Linked DNA regions of Homo sapiens: region 2 is linked to region 1. Evidence: promoter capture Hi-C in human tissues and cell types (Jung and others, 2019). All regions are on one chromosome and are shown on one strand. Each heading gives the region's core, a stretch centred on a gene start or on the middle of the fragment in contact. The rest is flanking DNA. Distances are from core to core; before and after follow the strand shown. Region 1 holds the start of ST14 (ST14 transmembrane serine protease matriptase). Region 2 overlaps APLP2 (amyloid beta precursor like protein 2).

Region 1 (6,409 bases), core at 3,233-5,732:
ATAAATGCTAACGATTATTAGTGTTCATCATTATTAGTATTCTAGACACTCCAGTAATCATTGCACAATATCAGAAGCAACATCATCTTCAGGACCTGGGCTCCCAGGGGACTCTGTCACGTTTCCCTTCCTCTTCCAAAGACAACTTCTCTTTTAAAAGAGACATGAGCCACCAGCCTTGGCAGAACCACAGACCAGAGAAGGAGCAGACATCAGGGAACTTGAGGGCCACAGTGTTCCGAGGGACAGAAGCCACTGGCCACAGCAGTAGGCAGTCTGGTAGTCTGGTTCCCAGGGAGCAGAGTGAGGGTCAGGTAGGGGGAGGGAGCTGTGACTCGTTCTCCTTCCGCAGCCGGTGACAACGTGGCAACAGGCCAGCAAGTCGGCTCGAGCAGGTCCACCCTCTGACCATTTCCACTGCTAGCAGGCGAAGGCAGCCATCAAACTAGGGGCATCTTCTCCTCTTCCTCAGTTTTCTCAACTCCTAAACGAGGAATTTCCAGGTGTTCTCAGGACCAAGGCAGAGGGAAGGCTCCAGAAAGCCCCTGGAGAAGGCAGATTTCCGGTCCACTCCAGCAGCTGAAGCCCCACCTACAGGACAATCCTAGCTTCCTGCTGCTTTCTGCCTTCCCAACCCTCTTCCTCACCCACTGCACACACCTGCCCAGCACATGCTCTAGAGAACAAAAAAGGCAGTTCTCTAAAGTTTTATGTGGGCACAGTGGCTCACGCCTGTAATCCCAACTACTTAGAAGTCTGAGACAAGGAGGATCGATCACCTGGGCCCAAGAGTTTGAGTCCAGCCTGGGCAACATAGCAAGACCCCCATGTCTAAAAAACAAAACAAAATAAAAGTTTAATTTTCTATGGTGGGAGGGGCAGGGGATGAGAAGGAGAAAGGGATATGCAGCTGGCACACATTTTCTTTTCATAGAAAGATATTTCTCCTAGAAGCTGGGTAAAGCAGGGGAATGAAAATCAGAAGGTCTTAGGAAGAGGTCTCTGTTGCTGGCGAGCAGTTCCTTGAATCCTGGGGGCACTTCCCTGTGTTTGGCAGGGCAGGATGGCTCCTCTGTGAGGTCAGGGCCCCACTGACAGCCTGGGTTCTCAGCCTCTCGACAGGCGACCTACTGATACTATACGATCTTCTTGCTTGTCTCAAGTCCCTTTCAACTCAAAAACTCAAGCTGCATCATTTGAACACCACACTGCAACTTACAAAGGGCTTTCATGTAAAGTACCCCTCTTAATCCTTTCAACAAACCTGGAACATATATGTCATCACCATTTTATAGCCACAGAAACCAAGGCTTAGAGATATTGAGTAACATCTCTGAGATCACGTGGCTAGACAAGGCGGCCCCGGGTCTTGGCTGCATGTTACCTCCTGCCACCACATCACAGATGCCTGCAGCCCTAATTTGCTGACCTGGCCCTTCCAGCCTGGGTTAGAGAGATGCCATGTGCTCACCCAGTGCATATCGAGAAGCTAGTACTCATGAGTCAGAATTCAGTTCCCTGTACCCCACACTACCTTGGGTGGTCCCAAGGACAGGGGCTGTGAGTCTAGGGTCTTCCTCACTGCTATTTCCCAGCACCTGGCACAGGCTCAGTCAGTGGGTTACCTAGCAGATATTGTTATGTGAATGAATGCCTGAATGGTTGACAAATTAACAAGCAGGTGACCCTCTGAATAGCCAGAGGTGTACACCCTGGCCCCTAGACATCTGATTTTGGCCACACAACATCCGATTTTTCCAAACTTGGTCTCTGGATGCCTAAGGGATGCTGAGTCTTACCTAGGGCAATTGTGATCGGAAAAGGAACCAGTGGATGTCAAGGCAGCTTCATATTCACCATCAAATACTCAACAGGAATCAAGACCCTCAGGGAGGCAGGCTCCCTGGCTCTCATTAATGGCCATAAGAAGTGGCATCTGTTTCCCTGCTTGCTTGCAGGCAGGGCTCACACCATCCCCAGATGCAGTAACGTGCATCAGGACTCTGAAGGCCACGCAGAACACTTGATGGGAACAGCAGGGGTGGGGCAGGGGCCACACCACCAGCCTTGGGAAGGGGACAGCCAGATACAAATACCACCAAACAAGGGTGCACGGATGGATGCAACTGGGGACAAGGAACCCAGAAACAACAGCACCCTGTGGGCCAGGCTCTGCTGACCCAGATAATAAACCCAGGGGCAGCAGCCACACCTCCCGGCCGGGGATGGACATCCTAGCTGCAAACACACACTACAGGGTGATCCCAGGGACTGGGATTTCTGGTGAGGCCAGGGATGGGAGGAATCTGCAAGACATGGAAATGAGCTTTGGCCAATTTCCTCTGGACACTCCGCCTCACAGCTAACTTTGGCATTCGTCTCTTAGTTTCGCTCTCAAGACTGGATGTTCTTTAAAGGAAACAACCACATCTTACTGGTCTCTGAGAGCCTTCCCTTCACCCATGGGACTAGGTACTGAGTTAGTTCAATAAAGCTCGGCAGGAGAAAAGACAAAGAGCAAGCCAAGAGAATGAAAATGGCAGAGGGGGAAGGAACAGCCCAAGGGCGCAGAGAGCAAATGAGCTTCGCAGAGGAGGAGGAAATGAGCAGGGATGGGGGAAACTAAAGCCAGGGCTTGCAGGTGACAAGACAAGTCCGCTGAATGTGGGATCCTGGGGGTGAGTGGAAGGTGAGCCCCAGCCTGGCTGCTTGTCAGGTGGTGAGATGGCTCAGAGAGGAGGCTGGACCACACGACCAGGAAGACCCTGCTTTCCCCGTGTGGGCAGGAGAGTCCTAGAAAGGGAAGTCAGGGAGAACAAACTTGGGGTGGGGGCACCGGACTGCCCTGAAATAACAAATTCCAAACAGCAGGTTCTCTGCTGAAGAGGCAGGGAGTCTAGAACCCCAAGTAGGCAATTAGCAAGGACACAAACATAGCAATTACAGCAAGGAAGAGAAGGTGAATCTGCCTCACAGCAGGGCACAGGCACAGCCAGGGGAAGGGCCCAAGCCTTCAGGTCCACTGGAAGCTTTCCTCCTTGCTGAGGGTGAAAAGTGGAGAAAATAGCAGAGCCCAGCCCCAGGTCCTGTCTGTGGTGCAGGCAGCCTCCAAAGCCCCAGCGTCTGATTTTCTGCAAGCTCCCTAGGTCGGGATGCTGCTTGGACAAAAGGAATTGATCTGAGACAGCACCAAAATCAGGCCTGACTTAGGGAGCAACGGCGGAGACTATGGAGCCCAGGGGCACCCGGAAGGAGGGGAGAAAGTGAGGGTTGGCAGGGCAGGGAGGCCATCATTTGCAGAGGAGCAAAACTCTCTGCCACACAGCCCCTGCCTCTCAGCGCCGCCCTGACCTGGTATGCCCTGGCCTTCCAGGAAACCTGGGGGTCTGCCTTGGACAGAGAGGGTAGAGACCTGGCTGCTGGTCCCGCCCGGGCACTACCACCTAGGTGGGTCCGTCAATGAAGTGACTAGCGACCCATCCCCAACTCCATACAGGAACATGTAATCTTTTTGAGATCTTTCAATAGGTCTTTCATTGTTCTTTCTGCCAAAGAAGAGCTTCCTGTTTCGGTACTTCGCAAAAGGCTCAAGACATGTGTGTTCCCACATCCCTTCCCATACAGCCGCCTTCCCAAAGGGCTCCATCCCCTCTCGAGAAGCCCAGGCAAGCCCAACTCTGGAGTTCTTAGCTCCAGCCCGTATGGCAGCCAAAGCCCTGGCCTCCCAGTTGTCCTCTGCGAGGTCCCAAAGCGCCTTTTGACGGGGAAGGAGAGAGACGAAAGAAACTTTCTGCAGAGGCCAAGGATGGCTGAGACTCCAAACCCTCCTGAAATTTCACTTCCTCCCAAATAACCCCACTCCAAGCCCCTGGTTTCTTCCAGATGTTCACTAACAGCGCGAGAGTCATGGAGGGGCCGAGACGGAGCCCCTTTTTTCAACTCAGGGAAAGAAAGGACCGAGGGCGCAGGAAGGCCCAGGGGCTTCCCGCCTCCCCCTGGCGGGGCGCAGCCGGTCCGGTACCAAAGGTCCGGCCAGCCCCGCCCGCCCGCGGCCCGGCACCCGCTGAACAGGAAATTCCACCTGTGCGCCCAGAGCTCGGCCACCGACGGACACGCCAGGGGAGCCGGCCGAGCCCAGCGCCGCGCTGCAGGGTCGGGCGGGCAGGAGCTTCCCAGCGCCCCGGGTCCCCGGCCCGCGCTCACCTCGTGCCGGGAGTTGTACTTGAGTCCCGCGCCGAAGTCCTTCGGGCCCCCTCCGCCCTTGCGGGCCCGATCGCTCCCCATGGTCCCCGAGGCCGCTCGCGGGTCTCACAGGCGTCGTCCCTGCCGGCGGCCGGCTCCCATGGCCCGCAGGGCGCGGGGCGCGGGGCGCAGGCGGCGGGATTCCGGGCAGGCCCAGCGCGCCCGACCGGCGGCGGTGCCCTCGCCCTGGCGCGCTCTCTCTCCCTCTTCCTCTTTCTCCGGCTGCAGCTCCGCTCTCACACTCCGGCCCGGCCCACGCAGGTAGTTTCAGGGTGTGGCCTCGGCCCGCCCAGCCCGCCGCGCTCGCCTGCGCACCTGCCCGGCTCACCTGCCCGCCCCCGCCGGCCCTGGGGGAGGCTCCTCCCCTCGGCTCTGGGCCTGAAGGTGAGGGGGCCTCACTCGGGTGGTGGTCGCTAAGGCCCTCACCATCACCACGACGGCGTTCACCACCCCTCCGGCCCTCCAGGGGCCCTGCCCCGGGAGGGCAGCCCTTTATCCACCTCCTTGATGCCAACCATCTTTTCCCTCCTCCCTCATGCGCCTCCGGTCTCTCCCCTTCACCTTGCTCACTTTGCTACAGGACTAAATCGCATTTATGAACCCCCCAAAACCAAACAGAAACCAGAACCGCCCCTGGCCCAGGCTCCCCGTCGGCTACGCAGCCTCCTGTTCTCCAGGCGGGAGGCGCTTGCTGGCCTGCGCCCGGCTACCCTGGGGAGGCCCAGTGACATGAGCTGTGCCACCAGATGCCCTCTGAGCCATCCCAACGCCCCTCGCCCACTTGCAGCATCTGATGCTTCCTCAAATGCCCCCTTTCCCTGGATTCCGGTCCTCCTTTCTAGTCCTAAATGTCATGATTCCCAAAGTTCTCCCTTCAGTTTCATCCCTTTCTTCTCTAAGCTTTTTCTCTTGGCAGCACGTCTCATCTTACGACTTCAGACAGGAAGACCTCCCTCCCAGCACAGACACCACCAAGGAGTGCCAGTTCTGCCTTAGCGGTCGCCTGGGGACGTCTCCATTTATGTTCTACTGTATTCTGTAGCCAATGAACATTACCAAGCACACACTAGGCGCTAAGCACTGTCCTGGGTACAGGGAAACAGGAGTGAACAAAATAAAAATCCCTGCTTTGAGATCAACAAGCCCCATCTTCCTTCCCTGACTTGCCCATTTTCCACTGTTTTCTCTAATTCTAATGGCAGCATTCTCCCAGGCTCAAATCCTGGAATCATCTTTGATTCTCCACCCTGCTTACATCTCATATCCAATTAGTTCCAAATCTGATCAAGACTCTGCTGACAAGCATAGCCCTTCCATTCCTGCGCATTAGAAGACCGCTATTCGAGTCCTCAGAGCCCTTTGCCTGGTTAAGAAAGATCTCCTGCCTCTGGGCTGCCACCCTCTGATCTCTCCTACACAAAGCAGTCAGGTAAATCTGAAACCACAGCTCCTTTATGACTTTCCGTGTCTCCCGGATCAAATCCAACCTCCTTAGCCCAGCTTCACACTCTGCCCTGTCCTCCCTTAACACCGTGCCTCCAAGCATTCCTGTTTGGAGCCCCTCTCTCCAGCCAGGCGTTCTGATCTTGGCAGCTTTCATAAAGCTTTTCATCCCCTGGAAGCTCTTCTCCTTCATACTCCTTCCGCATATTGGGTCGAAGACACCGATGGGGTTTTTTAGTGTTGTTCATTGAATGTTTTTAGCTCTCTGCCTTCTGGGCACAGGCCAGGGTGTTACTCTCTCTTCTCTGAAGTTAGGTATGGCAGTATGGCTAGCGGTAACCAAGAAAATGTCCAATGAGAGGACACACCACTTGTACATAGCAGCATAAGGAGGCACTGCACAATGCCCTGCTCTCTTCTGAGAGGTTTAACTCTGTGACCTGTGACCCTAAGTGGCTACAATGACACACACTGGATATGTAGCATGAATGAGGAGTCAGTCAGCTTTTGGGATGTTAAGCCACCGAGAGCTGAGGGTTGTTTGTTATTGCTGCAAACCTCACGCTTCCTGACTGATATGCTACCTCCTCCCCAGGAGTTTCCTTCCCTCTCAACCAGAACTAGCTCTGTTTGTACCTCTCTCATGGAGCTCACCACCATTTCGTTGCATTTTCTGTCTGTGTCTTAACTGCCTTTGCACCCTCAAAGCCTAGCACAATGACTA
Region 2 (7,057 bases), core at 4,424-6,923, 63 kb after region 1:
ATTTGGCTTGGGGAACAGTTTAGCAATCCAAGGACAGAAATTCAACTTGGTAAAAAGTGCTTCTAGTAACTTGGTCGAAAACCTGAAATGGCTTAAGGAAATAAATATGTAAATCTAAATAAATCTAAGTCTCAACCTACTTTAAATCAGGGCCTTTAATCACCTCAAGTGATGCAACTCCTGGGCTCATCTAAGCCTACCTCCCTTCACAAAGCCCTCAGGACCAGGCAGTCCTCTCACTCCAAAGCAAACGTGCACACCCAGTTATCTCTGCCCTCATTGAAGCTACTATTCCAGGATCAAATCTGGCTGCAGGGCTTCTGAAGGTGCCTGCCATAGAGGGAGCATCTTCCCATGAACATGGTTTGATCCCACTAGTGGAAGAATCAGGTCTCTTTGAAAGGAATCCGGCTTTATGAGACACACGAGTATTCAAGTTTCACCCTGCGAAGGCAATGTAACACAGTTCTAGTTCTAATAAACGCGGAATGAAGCAGGCCTTCGAGGCATCTAGTTACCACTAGCAAACTACTGATAGCGAAAGGTACGACGCTCTTGTTCAAAAACCTTTTTTAAGGAAAAGTCAGTAAAAAAGGACCATCTGTTAAAAGATACGAAAATCCTATATATTATTTTCATTCATATTTGTTCAAGCGCTGAAGTACTTCAAGGTTCACAAATTAGAACAAATTTATGTTCATGAACCTTCACCAAAGATTTACTAAACTGAACGAAGTGAAAAAAAAAAATTCTGTTCTCAGTATCCTTTCAAGGTATCTCCCCAAAGATATTAGCTACAAAAGGGAAAACAATTACTTGAGAGCAGAGACACACATCAGACACCTACATTAATCTCATCCACAATGAGACATTTGAGGGTGCTGATCAGGAAAGACCGGGGACTGCAACAGATCTGAGAAGACTAAGCAGAAATGACAAGTAAATGCAATGCAGGCGCCTGGACAGGATCCCGGAACAGGAAAAGGACATTAGTGGAAAAACTGCAGCAATTATTTGAATAAGGTCTGTAAGTCAGTTAACAGTGCTGTGCCAGTGCAAACCTCCTGGTTTTGATCATCGCATTACGAGTTATGCAAGATGTCAACATTAAGGGAAACAGGGTTACAGTATAGGGGAACTCTTGTAGTATTTTTGCAACTTTTTTTAAAGTCTAAAATTTGTTCAAAATACAGTGTTTTTGAATTCTGCTTATTATATGCCTAGATTTCAATCTGGAATGCATCGTTTCAATATTAAGAGTCTCATCTGTCAAAAAGAGAACACACAATTTGAGGTAGCACAACTAGTAAGTAAAATCGGAACAGGCTCAATACCTGAAAAGTGTATTATTCTAAACACACGGGCTGGGCGCGATGGCTCACGCCTATAATCTCAGCACTTTGGGAGGCCGAGGTGGGCGGATCACGAGGTCAGGAGACCGAGACCATCCTGGCTAACACGGTGAAACCCTGTCTCTACTAAAAAAAAAAAAATACAAAAAATTAGCTGGGCGCGGTGGCGGGCACCTGTAGTCCCAGCTACTCGGGAGGCTGAGGCAGGAGAATGGCATGAACCCACCAGGAGGCGGAGCTTGCAGTGAGCCGAGATCACGCCACTGCATTCCGCCTGGGCGACAGAGCGAGACTCCATCTCAAAAAACAACAACAACAACAAAACACACGGGTACACATCCTAATACAGTAAAGCCCCATTGTACACATATTAAATTCTATTTTTCTGCAATTGGAAGACTATCACGATTCTGACCCAGAGCCTAATGTGTAAGAAATGCCACATTTTTTTTTTACTGTCCAAACAGTGACCACAGTTTGAAACTTTAAGAGTATCTTTTTCAGCAGCAGAGAAGTGAAGCTTCAAACCACTATCTAATAAAATAGCAGGATTCTTGTTAAGCATTTTCCGGTTGTATAGCAGTAAAATGAAAAAACCTATTATTTAGAGTTTGCATTACATGAATGGAAAATTCTTGGTCTTTTGATTTTTTAACATTTAAACTTAATTCTAATTAGAAACTGGTGAACTGGGTGTAGGGGGAAAACTCCAAGTGTAAAAAGACATTATTCTTACAGTGACATATGCCGGCTGTTAGGTATTATTTTCACAGACAGTAATTTATACAAATAACTCCAGCTTTTATTAGAGCTTTAAATATTAAAGTATAAATGAGGTATCATTTCCAAGATTGAAAATGGTTTAGGCTGTCTCCAACGCTTTTTATGGAAACATGGTAATTTGTCCATCTGGATTATAGTGGTAAGGAGCCAAACATCATGATTTAATAGAGGTCTGTCTTTCAGTATGTGTCTCTGACATGAGAGCTAAGGGAAGTTTTTTCAAAATATACAAATACATAAAATACTTTCATGTAAAAAAAAAACCACGCAGAACAGTGTTTACACACCTGAAATTCTCAAATGAACAGGTTCTTCATCAGTCCCTGTGTTTTTTTTCTGATTGCCCATTATAAAATAGGAAGTCCATGAAACTTATTTCCAGGGGGTATGGAGACACTAGGGACTGGCCTCGGCCAACCATTACTCTTCTACTCACTGTACTACTGACCTGGGAGAAAGACCAAGAGTGTGGCTTTAAGGCGCAGACACACCATGACAGAGTTCCACCTCCATCACTGACTGGCTGTGCCAACTCTGGCAGGTCACCTAGCCTCTCTGGGCTTCACTTTCGTCATCTATAAGGTAATGACAATAATAACTACACATCAGTGCTGCTCTGACGTTTAAATGAGTTAATATATGTTAAGTGTTTGAAAAGTGTTTGTCACATAGAAGCGCTCTTCAAGCATTGGGAGCTTTCATTATTACCAGGTTTTAATTTTTTAATCTACAAAACAGGGTTATTAACATACCGACGGCTCAGGCCTGTTGTGAGGATTCGATTAAAATAACACGCAGAACCACTGAGCACAATGCCTGCCGCAGAGCAAGCACGTTAGCATCACCATCATCATCAGGCTGGCTCTTTCCACTCTCTGGCTGCAATTGCGCAGAACTGGGGCTTGAACCCGAGGTGCACAAGGGAAGAGGCCACAAAGTCCCCACATGACTGGCCATCCTTCCCAAATCCAGGATGGCATGAAATGGGTTTAAAAGAGTGCACATTCCTTCTTCACACATTAACTATGGACATGAGGAAAGCAGGTTGCATTAATGCTTCATATTTTGTGGGAATTCAGTCACCAAACGTTTAGATGAATGATTTAATACATTTAAAAGAAAATGGCCAAGAGTTGCTGACTTCCTGGCTCTAGCCCAGCTTCCGGGACTTGGAAGTGAAGTCAAGATGAATCTGCAACTATCAAAACACTTCTGTGATCAGAAGAGCACTATGTAAATTATTTTTCTAAACTGGTTTTCCTGATGGACATTCTGCTTCCTTGCTATGTAATCTCATGGAAGTTATTTAATCTCTCTTGACCTTAGTTTTCACTTTTGTGCAACATAAATAGGGTGCTACTCAAAGTTTAGTTATTAAATGAGACACCTACAATATTAACTTTTTTTCACACTATAACAGATGGAACTCTATTTTCCTAAAACTCCCCATGCAGGAGAAACATGGCTTAGAAATGAAGATGGCCTCCCTCACTAAGTCAGAATTCACTGTGACTCCAAAGCAAACCAGACATTTCTCATACTTTGTCAGGCATGCTAACTGCAGAGGTCAGGAAGGCAGGAGGCCTCAGAATTAATATAAGATGATCTAAATGGTGTGAAGTTGGGCTTAACATTTGAACTCACTGGCCAGCATTACTTAGGCAGTTATTAAGAGTGTGCTGACTAGTACGTGCAGAGCAGGGGTGGGGGGATGTAGAAGGATATGTTTTCTAAACCTTAAAAGAGTGAAATGATTTCAAGTAACACTCAGAAGTACTACTCATTAAATATTAATAATAAAATATGTTTATTCTAAATCATTCTTATTGATTCAGATGACAGAAATAATACAAATGATGAAGGGTTTTCTGTAGAATATCCAAGCACAAACCTGGCAATACTCTCAGAAATTATAAGCTTCCTCTGGCTGACCTGGTACTCTATGATATATACTTTGTTTTTATATGCATTAAGCCAGTCACTAAAAATCAGATTAAGCATAGTTTGAGTATTTCATGTACTTGTAAAAAATTACACTTCTTTTTAAAATATTCCATTTTTCTGACCAACTATTTCACTAAATAAACACTTGAATTAGTGATTTTACCAAGGCTAAGTTGAGAAACTATCCAACATGCCAGCTTTGGCTGAAATGCTGTAACTGACTTCAAGAGGTTAAAACCACAAACATGAATAACCAATGTCAGAGATCTGAAATTGACTTCACTAGATCTCTTTTCCTTTAACGTATCTGGGAAAAAATAAGAAAACAAATTCATGCAACTGAAAACATCTTTTTTTTTTTTTTTGAGACGGAGTCTCCCTCTGTCACCAGGCTGGAATGCAGCGGTGTGATCTCAGCTCACTGCAACCTCCGACTCCCGGGTTCTAGCAATTCTCCTGCCTCAGCCTCCCAAGTAGCTGGGATTACAGGCACGTGCCACCACACCCGGCTAATTTTTGTATTTTTAGTAGAGATGGGGTTTCACCGTGTTGGCCAGGATGGTCTCCATCTCCTGACCTCATGATCCGCCCACCTCAGCCTCCCAAAGTGCTGGGATTACAGGCGTGAGCCACCGCGCCCGGCCAAATATCCATGTTTTAATATATATGATGATTTTTGCCAGTGTTTTAAAGCAGGGAGGGGTCCCCAGCATCCACTAGGGGACTAACAGGGTCTACAAAAGGTTTCCAGTGGCCCCCCTGAAAAATGAGAAACCTAAGAAAGGTCTAGTGTGCATGTGTTGTGCACACATCCACGCGTAAGGGTACAGAACTGCTAATGGTCCTTGCTGAAGAATAACTGTCCTGAATTCTAACATTATCTTCTACCTTTTGTTATTAAAATGGTTTCATAAAATGATGGCAACAATCAACAGGTAGCTGCTTTTTAAAAATTATTCTTCTGTAATATTAACCAAGAACAACCTTATCTATTTAAAACATTTTTCTTAGTTCCATTATTCCATAAAAACCAAACACTGGAAATCACAGGTTTAGGTTTTTCTTGTGGGTATTTTGTTGTTGTTGTTTCTGAGCCAGAGTTTCACTCTGTCGCCCAGGCTGGAGCTCACTGCAGCCTCAACCTCCCAGGATCAAGCAATCCTCCCACCTCAGCCCCACAAGTAGCAGGGACTACAGTCACACACCACTACACCCGGCTAATTAAACAAACATTTTTTGCAGAGACGGGGTCCCACTATATTGCCCAGGCTGGTCTTGTACTCCCAGCCTCAAACAATCCTCCCTCCTTGGCCTCCCAAAGTGTTAGAATTACAGGCATGAGTCGCCATACCTGGTCCTTAAATTTCTAAGGTTCTGCTATGCTGAAAGGCATGAAATTCTTGGGTGAATAACCCATATCTTTGCTTATAACAAGAAAATCTGACAATTTGCCAAAATGATTTTCACAGGGCAGGGAGAGAGAAACTTTACACTTTAAATACAAATTTCTATAGTCATTCCGCTAAACATTTTATTAGGTGCACACAACACTCAGATATCAATCTGGATATAACAAATCAATTTAACTTCTAATGCCCATTAAAACCATGAAAATAACAAAAATACGAAAGTGCTCTACCCTTTCCAAATTCAAAGCAAGTTAAAAGACATCTTTCCTGTGATTTATGTGGCATTTAAATTTAAAAGTAAATCAGACTGTATTACCAGCTTACAGCAGATCTGCTTGCAGACAATAATTCTTCCTGTCTTGGACCCATGCCCATGTGCATTATTGTAATTATCAACAATTTAAAAAACTGAAGTAATAAAGCAAGTATGAGCCACTAGTCAGTATATTTACTGCTTGCTGCACTGGCTATTAGTTAACCTTCTGGGGTTCAAACCACCTAACTACTAATAAATGCATAAACGACAGCAGGAAAAGCTACCCTCGAGTAAAAAGAATGAATAAAAGGAATATAAACGTGTGTGTAAGCACACATGAACCTGCATGGTGTAAAATACAACAGCACCTTTTTTGGTATTTTTTAGAGACAGGGTCTTGCTCTGTCACCCAGGCTGGAGTTCAGTGGTGCAATCACGGCTGATTATAACCTTGAACTTCCAGGCTCAAGTGATCCTCCTGCCTTGGCCTTCTGAGGAGCTGAGACCACAGACGTGCAGCACCACACCTGGCTAATTTTTAAATGTTTTGCAGAGATGAGGTCTCGCTATATTGCCCAGGCTGGTCTCAAACTCCAAGTCTCATGCAATTCCCCAGCCTCAGCCTCCCAAGGTGTTGGGATTACAGGCATGAGCCACAGGGCCCAGCCTCAACAGCACTTTTGTACTACTTGTCAGGTGGGCACTGGGAGCCCTCCAGGATCCAGTCTCTACCCAGCACTCTGAATCACCTCAAGGCAGAACACACTGCTCTTCTATTCCAGAGAATTCAGAGTGGCTAATGTGGCTTGCAAGGCCCACCATGATGCAGCCCCTGCCACACTCCAGCATCCCTCCAGTCCAGCACCACCCTTGATGTCACAAGCCAGGGTCTGTCTCACCTCAAGGCCAACTGTCCTCTCTTGTTGAGGATGACTGTCCTGAATTCTAATGAACTCCCAGAACTCGAAGCCTTCCCCTGCTGTTCCCAAGCAAGTGTGGTGGTCTCACCCTCAGGACTCTGCTCAAAGGGGCATTCCGTGGAAGGCCTTCTCCTCCAACCCATTCCAGGTTTTATCTCTCTCAAGCAATCTGAAACGACCTTGCTCATTCATCTGCAGTGTCCATCTCCCATCACTAGAATGTGACTTCGTCAAGGGGAGAGGCCTCATGTATTTTCCTAACCACTGTTATCTGGGAACAGCCCCTAGCATGCAGTAGCTCATCATTTATACCCAAGTAAACAACTGACTCTAAAGTCTATGCTCTTGGTTTCTTCAAGATACTGCACTAAACTAGTATCAACCTGCAGGTAT

Evidence for each region. Contacts are between HindIII fragments. The study calls those that stand out against the background at their distance.
Region 2: a contact is called between a fragment that was not itself captured here and the fragment with the promoter of ST14 in region 1, in 1 of the 25 tissues and cell types used here (thymus).

What each region holds. Positions count from the first base shown.
Region 1 is chr11:130,157,855-130,164,263 of GRCh38, reverse strand. It overlaps ST14 (ST14 transmembrane serine protease matriptase), which reads right to left and starts at 4,482. Exons shown (of 19, transcript NM_021978.4): 1 at 4,204-4,482. The coding sequence starts at 4,284. RefSeq lists an enhancer at 2,747-3,246 and silencers at 4,334-4,403, 4,484-4,603. The HindIII fragment of the contact is 3,998 bases long and covers 1,497-5,494 here.
Region 2 is chr11:130,095,791-130,102,847 of GRCh38, reverse strand. The region is part of intron 1 of APLP2 (amyloid beta precursor like protein 2); the gene reads right to left. Among named protein-coding and RNA genes, the nearest start is that of APLP2, 29 kb to the right of the region's middle. The HindIII fragment of the contact is 5,421 bases long and covers 2,963-7,057 here.